Regions from separate parts of the Homo sapiens genome. Here regions 1, 3, 4, 5 and 6 are each linked to region 2. The links are contacts of gene promoters, found by promoter capture Hi-C in blood cells and fetal thymus (Javierre and others, 2016). All regions are on one chromosome and are shown on one strand. The core of a region is centred on a gene start or on the middle of the fragment in contact, and the rest is flanking DNA. Distances in the headings are between cores, read along the strand shown. Region 1 overlaps PNP (purine nucleoside phosphorylase). Region 2 holds the start of RNASE4 (ribonuclease A family member 4). Region 3 holds the start of RNASE3 (ribonuclease A family member 3). Region 4 holds the start of OSGEP (O-sialoglycoprotein endopeptidase). Region 5 has its middle 9.6 kb from the start of RNASE9. Region 6 has its middle 11 kb from the start of RNASE10.

Region 1 (3,073 bases), core at 573-3,072, 210 kb after region 2:
ACTTATAAGTGGGAACCAAATGTGTACATATGGACCTACAGAGTGAAATAATAGACACTGGGGACTCGGAAAGGTGAGAAAGTGGGATGGGGATGAGGGATGAGAAATTACCTAATAAGTACAATGTTCACTGCTCAGGTGATGGTTACACTAAAGCACAGACGTCACCACCACGCAGTATATCCATATAACAAAACTGCATTGTACCCCTGTAAATCTATAAAAATTAAAATTAAAAATAGGCCAGGTGCGGTGTCTCACACCTGTAGTCCCAGCACTTCGGGAGCCCAAGACAGGCGGATCAACAGGCCAGGAGTTCAAGACCACCCTGGCCAACATGGTGAAACCTCATCTCTACTAAAAATACAAAAATTAGCCAGGTGTGGTGGCACATGCCTGTAATCCCAGCTACTCGGGAGGCTGAGGTGGGAGAATCTCTTGAACTTGGGAGGTGGAGGTTGCAGTGAGCCGAGATCACAACACTACACTCGAGCCTGGGTGACAGAGCGAGACTCTGTTTCAAAATAAAGTGAGTACAGTGAATGCAGTAATTATAGACCTCTTCAAATTTTTCAAAGTTCTCAAAACATGTATTCTTATCTATTGCCCTAACTTAATTACCTGCCTCCTCAGTCCAGCAAGCAAGCTCATAGTATACTTACTCTGGCTTCTTAAAGAAGAGGCTACTGAACAAGGGGGAAAGAATTTGAACGCATGCAAGTGTCTCTTTCCTTATGACCCACGGAACAGTCCTATGGGAACACATGCCCACGGAGGGGTGCGTGGGAGTGCAAAGATAACTCCCCACAGACATAACAGCCATTATTACCATTTCTTTTATCTGGCAGTCACTTCTAATAGACGGCCAACCTATCCCTTAGGGAATGGGAGAGGGACTAGAACCAAGAGGAAGAGCTGAGAAATTCTCAAAGATAGAGGAGCTTATGCAAAAAAACAAAACAAAAACAGTAATAAAGTTGACAAAGGAAACCCAAGTGGAGTATAAAAAATAAACATGTTGATAAGCTTAAAAAAACTAACCCACTTATCATTTAATGCAGTGCCCTTCTCACTGGGGGTAGGAGTGGCCAGTGGAGCCAGCGTCACTACTATCTCCCTTAGAGAAGTATGCCCTTCACACACCCTCTGTTAATATTTCCCTCACCTTCTCCCTCTGCTCTTCCAGTCTTGTGTTAAAGAGTTTAAAAAAATAGCTATTAAAGGTCTTTTCCTGCTGACAGGTCTTAAAAAAAAATTCTTAACTCTCCAGGGAAAAGAAGATAGAAATCTTAAAAATTAATAAATAAACCAACAGAAGTTAGTTATTTGAGAAATTACGTAAACCAAATAAACAACCCTTGCCCTTTACTTGGCCCCTGTCACCTGGCCCTCTTCTGAGTCTTAGCCTCAGTCCACTGACACACACATGTCCTGTCTCTTATGGGATGTCTGCTAGAGGCATCTCCTAAAGTCACTCTGACTCATGGTGGGCTTTTCTCCTCTCTTACAACATTTGTCTTCAGTGAAATGCTAGGTCAAGGAGTAGAAACATTGGCCTCCTTGGTTGTGTTCCACAGAATTCCAAGAACATCCCTCAGTCCCATTCCCCACTTTCCCTTGCCAGTACCTGTACTTCGGGGAAAGTTGGGGATTTCACCGTAGTCAAAGATCTGGGCCTGAGTTAATTTATCAGTCAGACCTCCTAATCCAGAACCACAGATTATTGCAACTTGAGGTCGGTGCTTAGTGTGAGACAGAAGCCATTCTGCAGTGTTCTTATAATCTTCATAGGTGTATCTGGGGGAGAAAAAATATCAAGGTGAATTCTGCTCCCATTCCAAGGGCATCACAGACAAATGACCTTCGGTGCAAAAAGGCTGGCAGGTATACTGAGGCAGCAGGGACGGAGAAGCTGGCACAGAGGGAAAGGCCATACTATGCTCTTCCATCTACTCAGCCACCCTTCTTTCTGAATCAAGCCCACTACAAGTCTGATATGAAACTACCTCCATTCTAGAGCCTGGCAAAAGTTAATAAAGCCTGTTTCTACTAACAGGCCCAACTCCAGTGTTGGATCCACTGAACACTGGCAAGCTGCATACTTATCCTTATGACAAAGGTTTAGAGAGGAAGGGGCCAGAGTGTACGGGGAAGTGCAAGGAAATAATCAAATTAGGGAGGGTAAAAGGGCTTGGCCAGGAGGGAGCCCAAGAAGAGTACTCAAAATGGGATTAAGCCCTTCCTGAGGGTGGTGCCCACCTAGTAAAATCCCCCTTATTACCTTACCTGTTCCCCAAAGACATTCAAAATGTAATTAAGACCAACTACTATGAAGGCAGAGATAAACTCAAATTTCCTTTTGAACCCTCATTCCTCCAGTTCCTTCCTCAGCCAAAGACTTAAGGGCTACATTTCTTTTTTGTTTTAACCAATAAAACACAATGGGACCACCCCTGGTAGAGGTCTACGTGCCATTCTTAGCTCCCTGGATCACAAGGGGGTTAATTCCAGACAAAAAACTAGATAAACTGCTGTACAAAAAAGCAGACCCAGTCCACAGTACTGGTTGTCAAAGGTTAAACCAGGACTGACTACACAAATTCTCAGCAGAAGCTTGTTAGAAAAACAGATTCTGGCACTCCAGCCTGGTGACAGAGTGAGACCCTATAAAAAACACACACACACACACACACAAAACCCCCACAAAAAACAGATTCTGAAGCCCATGTAATTTTGATTTTAAAACCAGGTTTAGGGGCTGGGCGCGGTGGCTCATGCCTGTAACCCCAGCACTTTGGGAGGCCGAGGTGGGCGGATCACGAGGTCAGGAGATCGAGACCATCCTGGCTAACATGTTGAAACCCCGTCTCTACTAAAAATACAAAAAAAAAAAAAAAAAAAAAAAAATTAGCCGGGCGTGGTGGCGGGCCCCTGTAGTCCTAGCTACACGGGAGGCTGAGGCAGTAGAATGGTGTGAACCCGGGAGGCAGAGGTTGCAGTGAGCCAAGATCGCTCCACTGAACTCCAGCCTGGGAGACAGAGCGAGACTCCGACTCCAAAATAAATAAATAAA
Region 2 (3,200 bases), core at 234-2,733:
TTTAAGACGGAGTCTTGCTCTGTCACCCAGGCTAGAGTGCAGTGACGCAATCTCTGTTCACTGTAACCTCCGCCTCCCAGGTTCAAGAGAGTCTCCTGTCTCAGCCTCCCGAGTAGCTGGGGTTACAGGTGCTCACCACCGTGCCCGGCTAATTTTTGTATTTTTAGTAGAGACGAGGTTTCACCATCTTGGCCAGGCTGGTCTCGAACTCCTGATCTTGTGATGCACCCACCTCGGCCTCCCAAAGTGCTGGGATTACAGGCATGAGCCACCGTGCCGGGCCCACACAACTTTTATATTCCATACTAGTACTTTCTAGACAATCAGAGCTAACTTTAAAGGGGCCACTGAAAGTTGCTGTTCGAAGGAAACCTACATTGACTATTACCATAAATTCAAAAATTATTTTACTCTGCTTGTCATCAGTAAAAGAATTGCTTGAATTGAAGCGTATGTAATAAACCTATCCTCTTGCAAAACTTGTTAGTGGCTCTGTGGTTAAGTAAGTCTTGAATACCTGAGGCTGCTTCTGGGAAGGTGGTCCTGTGCCACAGATAATGATGTCCCTTGGGTTTCTACTGATTACATTATGACTTGATTATAAGATTTTTACTGTCACGAGGGAGGGTCTTGGCTCATCTGAGATTTCCCTAGCCCCCTGAGTGGTGCTGAAATTGTTTTAATAAAGATGTTGCGCTTTACTCATGTGCTGCTATTAGCATTTGACGTGCTGTCTCAGAGCGAGAAAACGGAGGATCCCAACCTTCCAGTAGGAAGGCTTAGAGAAGAGGCTGTTGGCAAGTGTCTCTAAGAATTGCACAACACTGGCTGAGGGTGGGTTAAGGGTGAGGAGGCAGAGGAGAGTAAACAGAAAACACCGATCCCCAAATGTTAGTTACGCTTGCAAAAAACTAAGGCCTGCTTCAAAAAGCTGGTGATTAGCCTGAATAACTAGCAAAGCTTTCTTAGTTGTGGGCAAGTGCAGGCCTCCTAGGGCTTCCCTTAGGTTCGGCGATTCTGTGGTCCCCCTCCAAGCCTACTAATCAATAGAAGCTGGCATCTGTGCCCAGCTGCGCAAAGTAAACCTGAGTGGGAATGTAAAGTCGTTAACTCATACAAATACGGGACTTTCACGTCCCTCCCCATTCCTCCCTCTCCAGCCCCGTCCCGCAAACTCCTCCCCAAGGAGTCCCAAGCTGCCTCTACTAGGAAAGGACTCCCCGGCCTAAACGCCCCTTATGAAGCTACCAGAGAGGAGGAGGAGGAGCAGGAGTGTGAACCTACCTCGGCCTCAGAACAAGTCCGCAGAAACGGGCAGGACAATGGAAAGAAGTTTTGTTTCTCACCCGCTTCTTCCTCCCTAGTACGATGATGGGGAGCCGGTAGAAAACGCAAAGATGTTCTTTTGAATCCTGCTTTGCATCTAGGTGGGGTTGGCGTCCTTGTGTGAGTGTGTGTACACGGACGGAGATGGGGGCGTGGTGAGGTGTGGAGGGTCGGCGTGCCAGCCTCTGCGTAGTTGGGACCGCGCCCCGCTTCTCCGAGGAGGCCCCTCCCGCCTGGATCCGCCCTTGGAGCTGGCGCCGCAGCAGCACCCGCCCCAGGGGCCGCAGGGGCAGCCCAGGCAAAGAACGAGCCTGGGATCCGCGCTCCTTCCTCAGCTGGACCCCAACGGGCAGCAGCCGCGAGAGCACTGCCTCCACGGAGAGCAGATGGCGGGAAACTGGCTTCTGCTCCCAATTGCCAGGCGGCCCTTCAGAGACTACCCCTGGCTGAGCGTCCAGGAACCCATGAAACTTGGTCTTGACACTGGTCGACAGCACCATCTGCCACGTACTTATTCGCTGCTGCTTTCTTTGGCAGGACAGCCCATCGCGAGACAGTTTGTGTTTCAAATTTAACGGAGACTTTTTTTCAGTAGTTGACAAAAGGGGGTGGAAAAACAGTAGCCACGAGGGCTCGTCCGGGATTTGAACCCGGGACCTCTCGCACCCAAAGCGAGAATCATACCCCTAGACCAACGAGCCACTGTAGCTGAGTGGTGCTTCCTATCACTCTGAATTTCTCTTTTCCGCCTGCTGTTCTGAAGGTTTTTTGTTTTGTTTCTTTTCCTCTGTTGTGACATTTCCCTTAGGCCTTATTTAGTTATTCCTTCCATCTTCACCAAGTTTCAAGTGTGGCTTATTCTCTGGCTTATTCTCCTCGATCCAGATGCAGGATGGGGTGAAGGAAGGCAGCTTTTTAGACTTTAGGTCACATGCTTGTGTCTCACTGAGCCCGGGGAGCGATTTAAGCCCGCTAGGGCCTGGAGGGAACCTGGAGGGGGCTGAAATAGAGATCGAGGGCCAGAGCTGAGCTCGGTTGCAAGGCTGTAGGGTACTGAGCCCCAGGACAGACGCGCGATACGTATATATCTGCCGGCCTTTGGACTTAACGTAGAAGCCAAAATATAACACACTTCGGTAAGACAACAGTGCCTTCCCCCAACGGTGGGACGATTCGGGTCTACTATCTTTCAGAAAGGTAACCAACTTTTCAAGACGCGATTAACGCAGCCCACCTCGCGGCTAAGCTGTTTCCTTCGGACAAGGGTGAGAGACAGAAACAGATTTGATCACGTCAAGATACAGAGATTTTTTGCACAAACGAAGAGCAACCGTAAACCCCAAAACAGCAGCGTCTCCTTCGAGCCGGAATCGAACCAGCGACCTAAGGATGACCACACATTAAGTACTACAGTCCTCCGCTCTACCAGCTGAGCTATCGAAGGAAGCACGGAAACAACTCTCCTAAAAATCCCTACTCGAGACATCCTTAACCAGAGACGGGAAAGAAAGAAATCTCTTTATACCCGGAAAGTAATTACTGCAGAGTCACAAAGCCAGCTTGTAAGACAGTCCTGCGTCCGAGGTTCTGAGGACAACCTTTCTAAATCTGGATTCCCCTGCCTCACTGAGGGGCTCCCAAGCAGAGCAGGCGCCCCTGAAACTCGGGCATACCGAGGCTGCTCATCCTCTGGGCGCCCGAGGGCTGTTGGCCTCACTGGGCGCGGACCCAGGGGCCTCGCGAGCGTGGATGCGTGTGTTTGTGTGTAGGGTGGGGACCGGCACCTGGGCGTCGGAGAACTGGGGGCTGAGGCGGTGGGACGCACACAATTCTGACTGCGCAACTGTGAACGCCGGAGAGGGCGGGCCTCCAGG
Region 3 (2,998 bases), core at 384-2,883, 210 kb before region 2:
GTCGGAACAATTTATCTTATTGCACATTTGACTCAAACCCTGGTTCCACCTCTATTACGATTGCTAATAGCTGGAGACTTGATGTGCCCATTTAAAAGAAATATCCCTGAGGCTAAACTTTTCTTTATCTTGGTTTCACCTTATTTATAGCATTCTTGACTTTTTCTACTTTCTTCTTTTCTATTTTCTATCATAACGTTCAATTCTATCAAAATTTATCATTCATAAATCATAATGAAGCACGTGCATTTTCAGCTGATTCACTGCAGCTCTTTTTTTCTTGGGATAGAAATCATGTCAATAAAAACCATAGTCGGACCATAAAGCATCAAATGGGACCTCAATATCAAATTGGGCTCAATTCTGGAATACAACTAAAACAAGTGGAGATCTATACACAAGTTATAGGTTGGTGTTGGGGGAGGAGTCAGTGGATGGAAAATTGCTTAGAGGAGATATTAAGGCTAGGGAGACCAATGCTAAGTTGACTCAATTGGATTTTTTTTTAAGGCAGGCCTGGAATCAGGTATCACATGAAGGATGATGGGGGAATTAAGGAATTTGGTCAGATATTGAGGGGGAGAGATTCATGATAAACCCAAATCTCTAGAGCAGATTGTCACTAAATGACAGCAGAGCGGCCGAGGAAGACACACAGACACTTCCAGATGAATTTGCAAAGCAGTTTATTGCAGGGTTCACAAGGGACTTCAGCTCAGGAAAGCTGAAGGGGTATGGAGACTGATGAGGACAGTTGCTGATACCCAGAGTACATGGAGGGATGGGATCTTGGCTATGATTGAGGAGCTTGGCAGATGAGTGATGATGAGGACTGCTGATACAGGAGCTTAGATGGTGGTATCCAGGTGAACTGGAACCACAGGATACCGTGGAGAATCCCGTGGATCTCTGTTGTCACATGCAACTACATAGAACCTCCTTCCTGGTCTGTCTGCATACGTGCAGTTTGAAATATTCTGTGCACCTGGATTTATGAGGTCACAGTGGAGTAAAGGCACCCGGAATCTACTCCGATGACAATTGTTGAGAGTTCTGTTATGAGGGCAGCGTATACTTTGGTTACCACAAACATTAACTACATTAGCAAAAGTTGTACGAAGAAAAGTATTTTGGTTTTTGCAACGCCATCGATAATTGTTAATTGCCCGCATTGCAATGGTGCATCGAGGGGGGTTCAGACTGATGTGCTGGATGGCAAACCACTGAGCCCTCGTAAACTGTGGGGGTCTGGCATGGAGTGAGCCCTCCACACCCATAAGCCCCAACAGAAGAAGCAGACAAATTTGGGAAGTGAACAGTTTTGGAACCATGTTTCCTGTAAGAAAAGAAGAGAAGTAACTACTCCCCGATCCGGTCTCGGTTATGACACACTCTATAGTGTCTCAACCCACAGGCCCCTCTGCTGCCACTCTGGGGTCGCATTTCCTTTTCTTCCTGTCCCCAAAGTGTGCCACATCTCCTAAGCACTAACTTCAGCTCACCTCTCCCTCAGGTGCTGCCCTGTCGCTGCCCCTCCTGTCCCAGCTCTGGGGATTGTTGACTTACCCAGTCTCTGAGCTGTGGCTCCTGTGAGAACTGATCCAGCTGGTTGTTCTGGGGTTCAGGGGCAGCTGGTCTCCCCTACTTGGAACTGTTTAAATAAAGCTTCCCTTGGTGGGTCTGGCCATGCAGAAACCCACAGATTGACACATGGTCCACTTGTGCAATCATCCTTTTTATTTGATGACTTGGCTGAGCAACGGATACCCAAGGACAGCCCTGCTGCTCTTTCTGCTATACGGACTCTAATTCCAAGTCATCCTGTGTTAGACAGAGTTTTGCCGGTGGGATCTGGACTCTGGGTGAAAACTATACGCTGCCGGCAGAATGACCACAGATTTTATAACTGTCCTCTGGCAGGCCCCTAAATGACTAAATGACACGAAGGCAGGCATAGTAGTTAGGAGAAATAGAGCCACAGAGGGCTGTTTGCCCAGGAGAAACCCAGCTTCCCTTCCATTTTTAGTAATATCCTTGGTTCTCTCTCACATAAATGCTCTCCATCTCATCCACCACTCTTGCTGGAAACTTGAGCTATTAATTTCTTGGGGCACAAGATTCTGTAGATAATTAAAACAATCTGCTCCATACAATTGAGGAATTTTTTTCTTTACTCCTCTTGCATTGGATCCACTTTCTCTTAAGTCTTGCCCTGATTATTGATTCCACTTTGTGTAAAGTTACATAACCTAAAAACACACCGAGGACAGTTGTAAAATCTGGCAGAGGATGAATGAACATTTGGTGTCATGAAAGATTCCAACCTAGCACTCGGTATTCCTGTGATCTTTTCAGCCTATGGTATTTTCTACAAAACAGTGTGTTCTGGGGTTGTCATTCATCTTCCTGGTAAGTTTCATTTTGTGATATTAACAAGAATATGGTTCTGTATTTACAAATGAACATTTAAGGACAGAGCACTGTATTCCTGAAAGTATAGAGGTCAAGTGTACAGTTTGATACACAAAGCATACATTTATTCTTGGCCCTCAGAGAAACACAGGAAAGTACTTGTAGACATATAATTGTATTACAGTGTGATAGAGGTAATAGCATTTGTGTGAACATGGTGTCATAGGGACACTGCTGGTGAAGGAAATCACTTGGCTTGAGAAATAAGGAAAACTTCAAAAAAAAGTTTATTTCAGCAGGTCCTAAAGGATAAGCAGGGGATTTTCAGGGGATTTAGAGAAGAGATGAGCATTCTGGGCACAGGGGATGATGTGGGGAAATTGTACAGAGGTGAGAAGTGAATTGCAAAGGTAAGGCCTGGGTACTAACAGATGTTAAATCTGGTCTAGCTTTGAGATTAGAAAATGGAAAGTAGACCCTTAAATGATATAATATACCTTCCAACAGTTAATCTGCCTAATTTTTACTACCGTCCAATTTTCCTGTCATTTAGAAATGCAATAATTTTATCACTGGGGTCCTTAGG
Region 4 (3,413 bases), core at 874-3,373, 230 kb after region 2:
AGAGGTGGGGCAGAGATAGAGAATTAGCAATTGGTTTTGAAGAGTTCAGGCATTAGGCATCAATAGGGTCTCACCTATGCCGTAAGAAACTTTGAGTGGGCACTGGCGGGAAAGCAGGCCCACGCCACTGTACCCTTCCTTGTCCGAAGGAGCTGACCAGTATTGATGAGAGAGTCCAGGCAGCTCCTGAAGTTCAGCTGGTAGTTTGTTCTCTGAACATTTGGTCTCTTGAAGGCACAGTATATCTGGGGCTTCTTCCTTTACCCACTGTAAGTGAAAAGAAAGGTGGAAAACGTATTATCAATTCAGCAGAACATTTATTGAATAATCTATATGCTAAGTCATAGATACGCACGGGTTAAACAGTCTCTTGGCCTAAGGAGTTCGAGTCAAGCAGCACAATATTCAAACAATTCTAAGCTAGATAAATGAAAACAAATATAGAGAGGTAAGAAAGTCTTACATGCTATGCCAAGGAGATGTGTTTTTTCTATAGGCAGTGGATAGCAAGCTAAGATTTTTAAGCTATGGTTAATGGAATGGAGGACATGCTTCATATGGAATGCAATGCAGGAAGATAAAATGGAGGAAGTATAGTGAAGAGGTTTTTGCAACATTCTGGGAAGAGGAGAGAACACTAAAAAAGAAAATGGCAATGGAAGTGAAGGAACAGACATTTAGGAAATACAACTGGCAAGACTGGGGAAGCCCCACAGAAAACTACGGGCAGGAGAAAAATAAAACAGCCTGAAGGCTAAACGGAGAAAAGGGGTGACTAAACCCTAAGACCATTCAATACTAAAAAATGTCTCTTTCCCTCAAATTCCACTCACATCTAATCCTTTCTTCTTAATCCAGGCTCGAAGCCCATCCACATTCCAAGAGCAGATCTTGAGTGTGGCAGGTTTGCCACTGGGTGAGGTTTTCTGATCTGGGGGGTCCTCATACAGGGCTGGGCCCTCTCCTGCTGCCTCTTTGTCATTTTTCTTTGCGGCCGTCTTACTCTTCTTGGCCTCTGGCTCTATAAAATGAGTAATATATACTGACAAAAAGCTGGTGGTTTCCAACTGCGATCCGGCGTTAACTATAGACCCAACGAAAGCCTACGGTTCCTGCGACTTCTTCACAAACCCCTGCAAAAATGAGTCGGCCCGTACTTACCGTACATCAAGGGAATGACAAACACCCCCGCCGCAGCTTCTAGGAAGAAGGGCTGATTTCATTCCCTTACCTGTCCTGAGCTCATCCCCGTCTTCCGCCACCGCTCCCTTTTTCCCACGCTTCGGCATTCCCGTTACGAACGCCCTTGGGCAGCTGTACCGCGTCACCCACCGAAGCAATATTTTTACCGCGTTGCCTACAGACGCAAAGAAATCATGAAACCAGCTAAGGCTGGGGAGAAGACTCCTCCCAAGAGCGTCCCCGCACCAGGTCCCGCCTTTCAAACCACGTTATCTCTAAATCCTTTCCCCGCCTCCGTGCATCATAGGCCCTTCAGCCCCTCACCCACGAAACTAGATCATTTCATAGTGCCTTGTACCCTACTCGCGAGATCTGCCCTCCAGCCAATTGAGGATCTTAATTAAGGGTCCTGACTCAAGCTTGCCGTTCAGACTGCCAGCGAAGCCCCTCTTATGAGCAAAAGAGCAACCCCGTATCTGCACCGGCCCGATGGCAGCCTAGCTCCTCCTAACCCGAGCACAAAGAAGGGTGCACGCTGAGCCCCCACGTGGGTAGCGGACCTGGTCACGTGATCAGAGGCGCGCTTGTCGTGGCCGAAGAATGCGCGTGATTGGTCTGTCTGACACCACGTGACGGAGACGCTTAGCCTCGCCTCCCTCCTCTAATTCTCTAGGACACTTAGGTCCCCAACCCTCCCTCGGGCTGTTTATCGTTGTGCCAGATGCACAGCACATTGTGTGACACTGACTTAAGATTCTAACTATGTGCAAGAGGGAAAAAAACAGTGGAGAAGGCTGGGCTGGACCACGGGAAAGAGATAGGAAAACGGATACGAATGTAAGGCACAGAGTTGGCTCGGCGTCCCTGGCAGTTAGGAAGACAGGTCCCTGGAGGGGCCTTGGCGGGTCTCCGCTCGCGGGAGTTCCGCGGTGTCTTTCCCAGTGCTATCTGCAGGCTGGCCAGCTTCCTCTGCGCTCCGGAAAGCTGCGGCCCAGCGCGGACTAGTGAGGACCTCCACAGCTCCTGACATTGCCAGGAGTCCTGTCGGCGTTTTCTCCCAGCCTCCGCCATGCCGGCGGTGCTGGGTTTTGAAGGCAGCGCCAATAAGATTGGCGTGGGCGTGGTGCGGGATGGCAAGGTGCTGGCGAACCCGCGGCGGACTTACGTCACGCCTCCTGGCACAGGTTGGTGAGTAGGGGACTTAAGAGTTTTCCGCGCACTTCCCCGCACAGAATCAGCCTTCCATCTTCCTAAATACTAGTGAGGTGCAGCTTTCGATCCGAGTCTCATTGAAATTATGTGACATTATTAACGTCACAAGGCTGATGACTAGAAGAGTTACAGGCACTTGGACGTGGATCTGATGAGTTCATTTACCTTTTACTGAGCGCATTTTATGTGCTAAGTATTCAGAAATAGATGTTATACTGCTGTGGAGTCAGACATATAAATAGATGTTTATACTACAGCATGATAAACAGTATAATAGAGATGGACTCGAAATATTCTGTTTAAAAAACGCTTAGCAGGAGTATAGATTCCAGTTGCCCTGAATATACACTCCCTTTTTAAAAAAAAATTATTTTTTGAAATATTCTAGGATGAGTAGAGAGATGAGAGTGGAAAGACTCCCGGCTTACATGTCAGACAGAACTGGCTGGCTTTGCTATATTCATATTAAATATTTTTGTTTTGGACATTTGGTCTTTATTTTTTATTTTATTTTATTTTTTTGAGACAGAGTCTTGCTCTGTCGCCCAGGCTGGAATGCAGTGGCACGATCTCGGCTCACTGCAATCTCTGCCTTCCAGGTTCAAGCGATTCTTCTACCCCAGCCTCCCAAGTAGCTAGGACTATAGGTGTGCGCCACCACATCCAGCTAAATTTTGTATTTTTAGTAGAGTCGGGGTTTCCACCAGGCCAAGCTGGTCTCGAACTCCTGACCTCAGATGATCCGCCCACCCCAGCCTCCCAAAGTGTGGAAATTACAGGCATGAGCCACCGCTCGGGCCTGGTCTTTGTTTTTAAAATGGGAATAATACCTGTATCATTAGGTCTTGAAGATTAGATGAAAGTACCAAACACGGCTGGGCGTGGTGGCTCACGCCTGTAATCCCAGCACTTTGGGAGGCCAAGGCAGGCAGATCACCTGAGGTCGGGGTTCGAGACCAGCCTGACCAACATGGAGAAACCATGTTTCCACTAAAAAATACAAAAAATTAACTGGGCGT
Region 5 (3,287 bases), core at 351-2,850, 130 kb after region 2:
CACCATTTGGCTACTGTAAATGATGTTGCTATGAACATTGACAAACAAATATCTGTTTGAGTCCTTGTTTCCCATTTTTTTTTTTTTTTTGGTGTATATACGCATAAGTGGAATTGCTGGATCATATGGTAATTCTTTTTTTTTTTTTTTAAGAAACTACTATACTGTTTTCCACAGTGGCTGAACCATTTTACATTCCAATCAGTAGTGCACTAGGGTTCCAGTTTCTCAAAACCCTCATCAATACTTCTTTTTTTAATATCTAATAGCAATTTCAATGGATATGAAGTGGCGATGCAACACTAACTTTAAATTATACTTACTCAGTGAAAGAATGTAGGCAAAGCATTCCCAAGAGTAAGAAAAACTATAAACACAGCATTTTGTTTCCTAACCAGAATAAACCCAATTGGTATTCTCTTTGAAAATTTCTGATGTCTATGATGTTATTGATTAAGTAAATAGGAGAAAAGTCTAGCCCAATGAACAGACAGCACAGTTGCTCCCGTCCCTTTGTGTTAGTGGAAGTTGCGAGACAAAGTAGTAAATGCCATTTTTGCTCATTTCTGCTTGCCAGCATAATTTCACAAAGCCCCTCACTCTATGACAACCTGCAGCTCTTTGAGAAGAATGTTTGAAGATACCACAGAATAGAGTGCACGGTCCCCATGCTCCGTGTCTGTTTACCTGACTCACTATATTCCTAAAGATAAATTACACCAGTCCTTGCGTTTTCTTACGCATAAAATAAGGTCTGACCAGGTTAGTGATTATACTCCTGTAATCTATAACCAGATGTACTCTTACACCCAAACCTTGATGTGATTCTGCTTTAATGTAACTTCTGAGCAAATTTGATGTGATTTCACATATACTGAATCTTTACCACCTGTAAATTGTCAACTAAAATACTGCATGGGAGCCATCTAATAGAACCCCTCTAAAGGGCTGCTCCTGGGCTATAGGCCTCCCAGCCTGTAGACCTCAGTAAGACTTCTGAATAAAACTAATTTTAATTATTTAAAAGTTGGATCTTTTTTTTCTTTAGTTGACAGGATTCTCCAGGGGAACAGCATCAATAGGATAGGTATACGTAAGGGAATTTTTTAGGGAGAATTGGCTCACATGATTAAAAGCGAAGTCCCACAATAGGCCGACAGGCCATATGCAAGCTAGAGAATGACAGAAGCTGGTAGCAAGCAAGGTTGTTAGAGAAGCTGGTCTGAGGCTGAAGGCCTCAGAGCTGCCACAGGGTGGGAAGGTTGTGGGGAGCAAGCAGTCAATTGAATGGTGCCTGCCCACATTGAGGGCAGGTCTTCCTCTCTCAGTCTCACCTGCCAGTCTCCTCTGGAAACTGCCTCACCTGCCAATCTCCTCTGGAAACACCCCCACAGACACCCCCAGGAACAGTGCTTCACCAGCCATCTAGGCATCCTTCAACCCAATCAAGCTGACACCTAATTTAACCATTCACACCTTTCTATTCTAGCACGATATTCTTAGATGACATTAGGAAAAGAATAAAACCAAAGCTACTAACTATCCCTGTGCTGCTCCTTGAAAATTGGTGATGCTAAATTGAACCCTATTCATTTGCCCTGTAATATTTTGGTACAAAGTTGAATTAATATTCCTGATAAATTCAGAGCCAATAACTTTTATTCATATATATATATATGTATATATTGTAGCAGTCACAATACCTCACACAGTATCTTCTCTATAATATAAAATTTTCGAAGTGTTTTTATATACCCTTTCACTGTTCATCATTACCTCTTGTGTCACAAGTAAGGGGATCATATTCTCTGTCCACTGTTTCCTATTTTTCCTGTCACACAACAAATAAGGATTAAAAAATGAAATCACATATTTTATCCCAATCTTTCTTCTCTTTCTCTAAGATGGATCTTTCTCACATGTCTCTGACATAAGATCATGACATTTGTGAACTGTCATATTTTTAGAAACACAAGGAAGCAGTGGCTCATCCCTTCCTCATCACATCTGATGCATTCATTGCATAATTTGCATTGAATACAAGAAGAAATATTCCACCTAAGTTTCCATAGTTGAAAGATTACAAGAGCTAGTCATCAATATCAAGTTCTTCTTGAAAGATCAAAGGAGATACCTGGAGCCTTTGGAGCGTGCTTCGAGTCCTATCAAACTGAAGGTAAATTAGTCTTTAACCAAGTGAGATTTTGAATTCAGGGGCATTTCCCATAAGATAGAATGATGACACTGACATGTTTTCCAGCTACTAGATTATAACTTCAAGTGAACAAGAACATTCGCAGTGATGGGTATATACACAAATGTGCTGCCTTACTTAATTCAAAATATTCAAATATTTGACATTATTCCATTGTCAAAGATTTTCTTCCTTCTCTTTTTAAAATATGTTCATTACAAGTGGGTACAAGCAACTCACCACTTCAATATACACCCTAGTGTAATAATGCCCTAGTATTTCCATAACGAAATGCATAGTATTTCAAGCATTCTCTCATTCTTTTCTATCCTCAATGCCTAATGCCTGCCACTTAATATTCAATAAGTATTTTTAAATGAACAAATACATTACATATAATACAGAATTTTCAATTATATAAACATTTTGATGAACTAATTTTTTACCCATATTCCACAGCATGCACTGTGTTCATTGTTCAGGTGAGAGATCAACAAAGGGGAGAGCAGCACATTTTTGGATTTTCCATATTGGTCTAGGAACCTGTGCAGCAAACATCAAAATAGAGAGTGGGCTTCTAAGGAGGAGGGAACATTAAGAATATGAAAGGGAGGAATTTCAGGAGAAAATAAGAGTAAGAGAATGAGGGATTTTACCCTGCTTGAGAGGCAGGATGGAAGATGACCAAGGGTTGGACATGAAAAGAACTCTAAGGAGGTGTTTACAACAGGAAGAAGAGTAAGGTCAGTAAAGGGGCACTGCTAGTACCTGGGAACTAAGGCAATAGTGAGTGTTACCCAATGTCTGCCCTTTCATACCTCCTGCCCCTTTCTGTACGGAGAATGTGGAGGTCACAGGGGAGGGCAGAGGGAGAAAGAAAGTCCTAGGCCTGTGTTCCAATAGCATGCATGCCCACTTGTTAATTTTTGGTGGGGCATTGAAGACTTAATAGTTGCCATAATCTACTCCAATTTAAGATATAGGTTGCATCTTTAGAAAAATGGACATTGAAAGCTTATTAGCGACTCATTTTTTGAAATTTTGACCCCAGCATTTGGAGAAGTTTCTAGTGAAAGAAGTTCAACAAGTAAGT
Region 6 (3,305 bases), core at 698-3,197, 190 kb after region 2:
TATGCTTCTTTCTAATTTCAGTGCATGTTTAAAAATTTCCATAATGGAAAGGAGAAGAAAGGAAAGGAAAAGGAAGGGAAAGGTAAAGGAAAGGAAAAGGAAGGGAAAGGAAGGGAGGGGAGAGCAGGGAGAGGAAGGAAGAGGAGGGGAGGAAAGGGCAAGGGAAAGGGAGGGGAAGGGAGGGAAAAGGGAGAAGCGGGGAGGGGAGCGGAGGGGAAGGAAGGGAAGGGAGAAAGGAAAGAAAAGAAAAGAAGAAAAGAAAAAGAAAGGAAAGGGGAAAGGACAGGAAAGAGGAAAGGAGAAAGGAAAGGAAAAAGGAATGAAAAAAAAGAAAGAACAGGAAAGGAAAGGAAACTTGAAGGGGAAGGAAATTACAAAAAGGAAGTCTGCTGGCTTTGTAAGGAAGGGGGTAATGAGTAAGTTCAGGCAGTTTTGTTTCATTTTGGGTATTTGCACCAGTATTCGAGGTGTCCCAATCAGAGTGACTCATCTTGAATAAAGGCCAGATGAAGCCAAACCTGCTGGGTTACTTTCCCAGGAAATTGGGCACTGTTAATCACAAAATGTTTATGGTTGAGGAAATGAGTTGATGGAAAAAGGCATTCTTAGTTTAAAAATGGGTTTCTTGGATGGCATGGTGGCTCACACCTGTAATCCCAGCACTTCAGGAGGCCAAGGCAGTTAGATTGCTTGATCTCAGGAGTTCAAACCAGCCATGGGCAATGTCAGGCGTCTGAGCCCAAGCTTGCACGTGTAAGTATCCGGATGGCCTGAAGCAACTGAAGAATCACAAAAGAAGTGAAAACAGTCGATTCCTTCCTTAACTGATGACATTACCTTGTGAAATTCCTTCTCCTGGCTCAGAAGCTCCCCTACTGAGCACCTTGTGACCCCCACCCCTGCCCGCCAGAGAACAATCCCCTTTGACTGTAATTTTCCACTACCTACCCAAATCCTATAAAACAGCCCCACCCCATCTCCCTTTGCTGACTCCTTTTTTGGACTCAGTCCGCCTGCACCCAGGTAATTAAAAAGCTTTATTGCTCACACAAAGCCCGTTGGTGGTCTCTTCACACGGACACACGTGACAGGCAACATGGTAGAATCCTATCTCTATAAAAAAATAAAAATAAAAATTAGCTGGGCATGGAGACTGAGGTGAGAGAATCCAGAGGATCAAAGAGGATCGAGTCAAGGAGGTGGAGGCTACAGTGAGCCAAGATCGCACCACTGCACTCCAGCCTGGGCGACAAGAGTGAAATTCTGTCTTAAAAAAAAAGGTGGGTGGGAGGGTTTCTTGTGGTGGTGAAGGTGTAAGCAAATAAACACATAAAAATAAACATGGGTTTCACTTTAAAGATAATACTACACTCATAAATTATTGCTGAAATCAATAGTTACACCGGAGAATAACAATACTAATAGCCTGTCACAACTTGATCACAAGCCTTTATAATAAAGTAAACTATTCTTTTTTTTTTTTTTTTTTTTTTTTTTGAGATGGAGTCTGGCTCTGTTGCCCAGACTGAAGTGCAGTGGCGCAATCTCGGTTCACTGCAAGCTCCGCCACCCGGATTCATGCCATTCTCCTGCCTTAGCCTCCCGAGTAGCTGGGACTACAGGTGCCCACCACCATGCCCGGCTAATTTTTTGTATTTTTAGTGGAGATGGGGTTTCACCGTGTTAGCCAGGATGGTCTTGATCTCCTGACCTCGTGATCCACCCACCTCGGACTCCCAAAGTAAACTATTCTTAACCTTAATATCCTGTATAAGCAAGCATTACATTTAAAGTAGGGGCATTCCTCCTCTTGCTCTCTGAGGATGCCCTACTCTGTAATAGAGTAGTTTCTAATGAACTGTTTTAACTATACTGTACTCTGCGCCCTGTCCTTAATTCTTTCCTGCTCAAGATCGAAGAACTTGCTCTTGAGGTTTGGAACAGGAATCCTTTTCCAGTAAAACCAGTAGTTCAAACCACTCCCTGCTCCACCTCTGACTTCCTCTTTTGTTTTGAGAGAGGATCTGCAAGACACTAGCAGTTTTGAGGAAGAGTGAGCCCTAGGGAGGGAAATGCTCAGTGGCTCTGTACTAGCTCAACTGTTGGAAGTCAGCCTCACCCCACACACTGGCCTTTTCCTGATCCCTTTCTGGTCTGAGAATGGGCAGTGGCCAGATACTGCCATGAGTAGATGGGAGTGAAAATACTTAGAGATGAAGAGGAGGCAGGAGAAGGGGAGCTGAAATTTTCAAACAATTGTCACTGTGTGATATTTCAACTTCAGATAGTGGCCAAATAAGTTTCAGTGGGAACTGCGTTCAATCCAAATGACAAAACCACTAAAGTCTGAAGAAGATGTACCAGCTAAACTGGTAGCTTCTAATCTTTTGATCATCATGGGTTCTTTTTTCTTTCCTTTTTTTAAATAAAATTTTAAAAATTCCTTCCCAGGTAGCTGGGAGTACAGGTGGGCACCACCATATCCAGCTAATGTTTTAATTTTTTGTAGAGATGTAGAGATGGGGTTGCCCAACCTATTAGACCCTTTTTATTATTCCCAGCCCCCATAGGTCCCTATAAATATTTGTTAAGATATAGTTGTAACTTAGCAAATGTATCTGGGGGACCATGTCCAAAAAAACCAGATGGACACCCAGAAAGGGTTTCAGGAGGTGGAGGCTGCACAATTATCCAAGATACATTGGATCCTATCCACAACTTACAGGTGCAAACTTGATCTTATCTGAGTTTTTCAGTTTCTTTTTTTTTGAGATGGAGTCTCACTCTTGTCGCCCAGGCTGGAGTGCAGTGGCGTGATCTCGGCTCACTGCAACCACCACCTCCCGAGTTCAAGCTTCTCCTGCCTCAGCCTCCCAAGTAGCTGGGATTACAGGCACCCGCCACCACACCTGGCTAATTTTTGTATTTTTAGTAGACATGGGGTTTCACCATTTTGGCCAGGGTCATCTTGAACTCCTGACCTCAGGTGATCTGCCTGCCTCAGCCTCCCAAAGTGCTGGGATTACAGGCATGAACCACTGTGTCCAGCGCATTTTTCAGTTTCATGCGAGTTACTCACACCAACCAATCCCCAGTTAAAACTATGAACAAGATCTACATTGAAAAATATGTGCAGTGAAAATAAACCTGCCCCATACATTCTCTCCCTGACTCAAGTGGGAGACCAAACCTCAAAGAGATGATTGCTTGGTGAGCATCAGTGGTCAGCAGCGTCACAGTTCCTTCGGGCCAGGATAAGCTTGGGAAAATGTTTCTGACTTGAAATTAAGAAGTGAGCTAGTGTG

What was found. The method cuts DNA at HindIII sites, captures the fragments that hold promoters and counts their contacts. A CHiCAGO score of 5 or more calls a contact.
Region 1: a fragment that was not itself captured here is called in contact with the fragment with the promoter of RNASE4 in region 2 in 16 of 17 cell types (total CD8 T cells, activated CD4 T cells, fetal thymus and 13 more); the score reaches 15.0 in total CD8 T cells.
Region 3: a contact is called between the fragment with the promoter of RNASE3 here and the fragment with the promoter of RNASE4 in region 2, in 10 of 17 cell types (neutrophils, megakaryocytes, erythroblasts and 7 more). The highest score is 15.8, in neutrophils.
Region 4: a contact is called between the fragment with the promoter of OSGEP here and the fragment with the promoter of RNASE4 in region 2, in 15 of 17 cell types (megakaryocytes, total CD8 T cells, naive CD4 T cells and 12 more). The highest score is 16.2, in megakaryocytes.
Region 5: a contact is called between a fragment that was not itself captured here and the fragment with the promoter of RNASE4 in region 2, in 1 of 17 cell types (M0 macrophages). The highest score is 5.2, in M0 macrophages.
Region 6: a contact is called between a fragment that was not itself captured here and the fragment with the promoter of RNASE4 in region 2, in 10 of 17 cell types (M0 macrophages, activated CD4 T cells, non-activated CD4 T cells and 7 more). The highest score is 7.8, in M0 macrophages.

What each region holds. Positions count from the first base shown.
Region 1 is chr14:20,471,032-20,474,104 of GRCh38, reverse strand. It overlaps PNP (purine nucleoside phosphorylase), which reads right to left. Exons shown (of 6, transcript NM_000270.4): 2 at 1,628-1,797. Among named protein-coding and RNA genes, the nearest start is that of PNP, 3.2 kb to the right of the region's middle. The HindIII fragment of the contact is 1,587 bases long and covers 1,029-2,615 here.
Region 2 is chr14:20,682,843-20,686,042 of GRCh38, reverse strand. It overlaps RNASE4 (ribonuclease A family member 4), which reads right to left and starts at 1,483. Exons shown (of 2, transcript NM_002937.5): 1 at 1,285-1,483. TRY-GTA5-5 (tRNA-Tyr (anticodon GTA) 5-5) reads right to left here and starts at 2,770; the gene lies at 2,682-2,770. It overlaps TRP-TGG3-2 (tRNA-Pro (anticodon TGG) 3-2), which reads right to left and starts at 2,027; the gene lies at 1,956-2,027. It also overlaps a transcript of ANG not described here. RefSeq lists enhancers at 1,192-1,331, 2,132-2,261, 2,402-2,591, 2,792-3,101 and silencers at 1,562-1,681, 1,952-2,001. The HindIII fragment of the contact is 4,966 bases long and covers 963-3,200 here.
Region 3 is chr14:20,890,020-20,893,017 of GRCh38, reverse strand. It overlaps RNASE3 (ribonuclease A family member 3), which reads right to left and starts at 1,633. Exons shown (of 2, transcript NM_002935.3): 1 at 1,567-1,633; 2 at 670-1,336. The coding sequence starts at 1,331. The coding sequence ends at 849. The region is part of intron 1 of LOC100507513 (a long non-coding RNA gene); the gene reads left to right. The HindIII fragment of the contact is 4,045 bases long and covers 1-1,667 here.
Region 4 is chr14:20,453,522-20,456,934 of GRCh38, reverse strand. OSGEP (O-sialoglycoprotein endopeptidase) reads left to right here and starts at 2,123. Exons shown (of 11, transcript NM_017807.4): 1 at 2,123-2,366. The coding sequence starts at 2,252. APEX1 (apurinic/apyrimidinic endodeoxyribonuclease 1) reads right to left here and starts at 1,709. Exons shown (of 5, transcript NM_001641.4): 1 at 1,541-1,709; 2 at 1,232-1,357; 3 at 834-1,021; 4 at 75-267. The coding sequence starts at 1,289. RefSeq lists enhancers at 1,446-1,665, 2,086-2,175, cis regulatory regions at 1,727-1,732, 1,748-1,753, 1,766-1,798, 1,809-1,814, 1,811-1,852 and 2 more and promoters at 1,600-1,934, 1,599-2,136, 1,766-2,210. The HindIII fragment of the contact is 3,687 bases long and covers 1,604-3,413 here.
Region 5 is chr14:20,549,838-20,553,124 of GRCh38, reverse strand. No RefSeq gene overlaps it. Among named protein-coding and RNA genes, the nearest start is that of RNASE9, 9.6 kb to the left of the region's middle. The HindIII fragment of the contact is 3,221 bases long and covers 1-3,210 here.
Region 6 is chr14:20,492,557-20,495,861 of GRCh38, reverse strand. No RefSeq gene overlaps it. Among named protein-coding and RNA genes, the nearest start is that of RNASE10, 11 kb to the left of the region's middle. The HindIII fragment of the contact is 1,819 bases long and covers 1,038-2,856 here.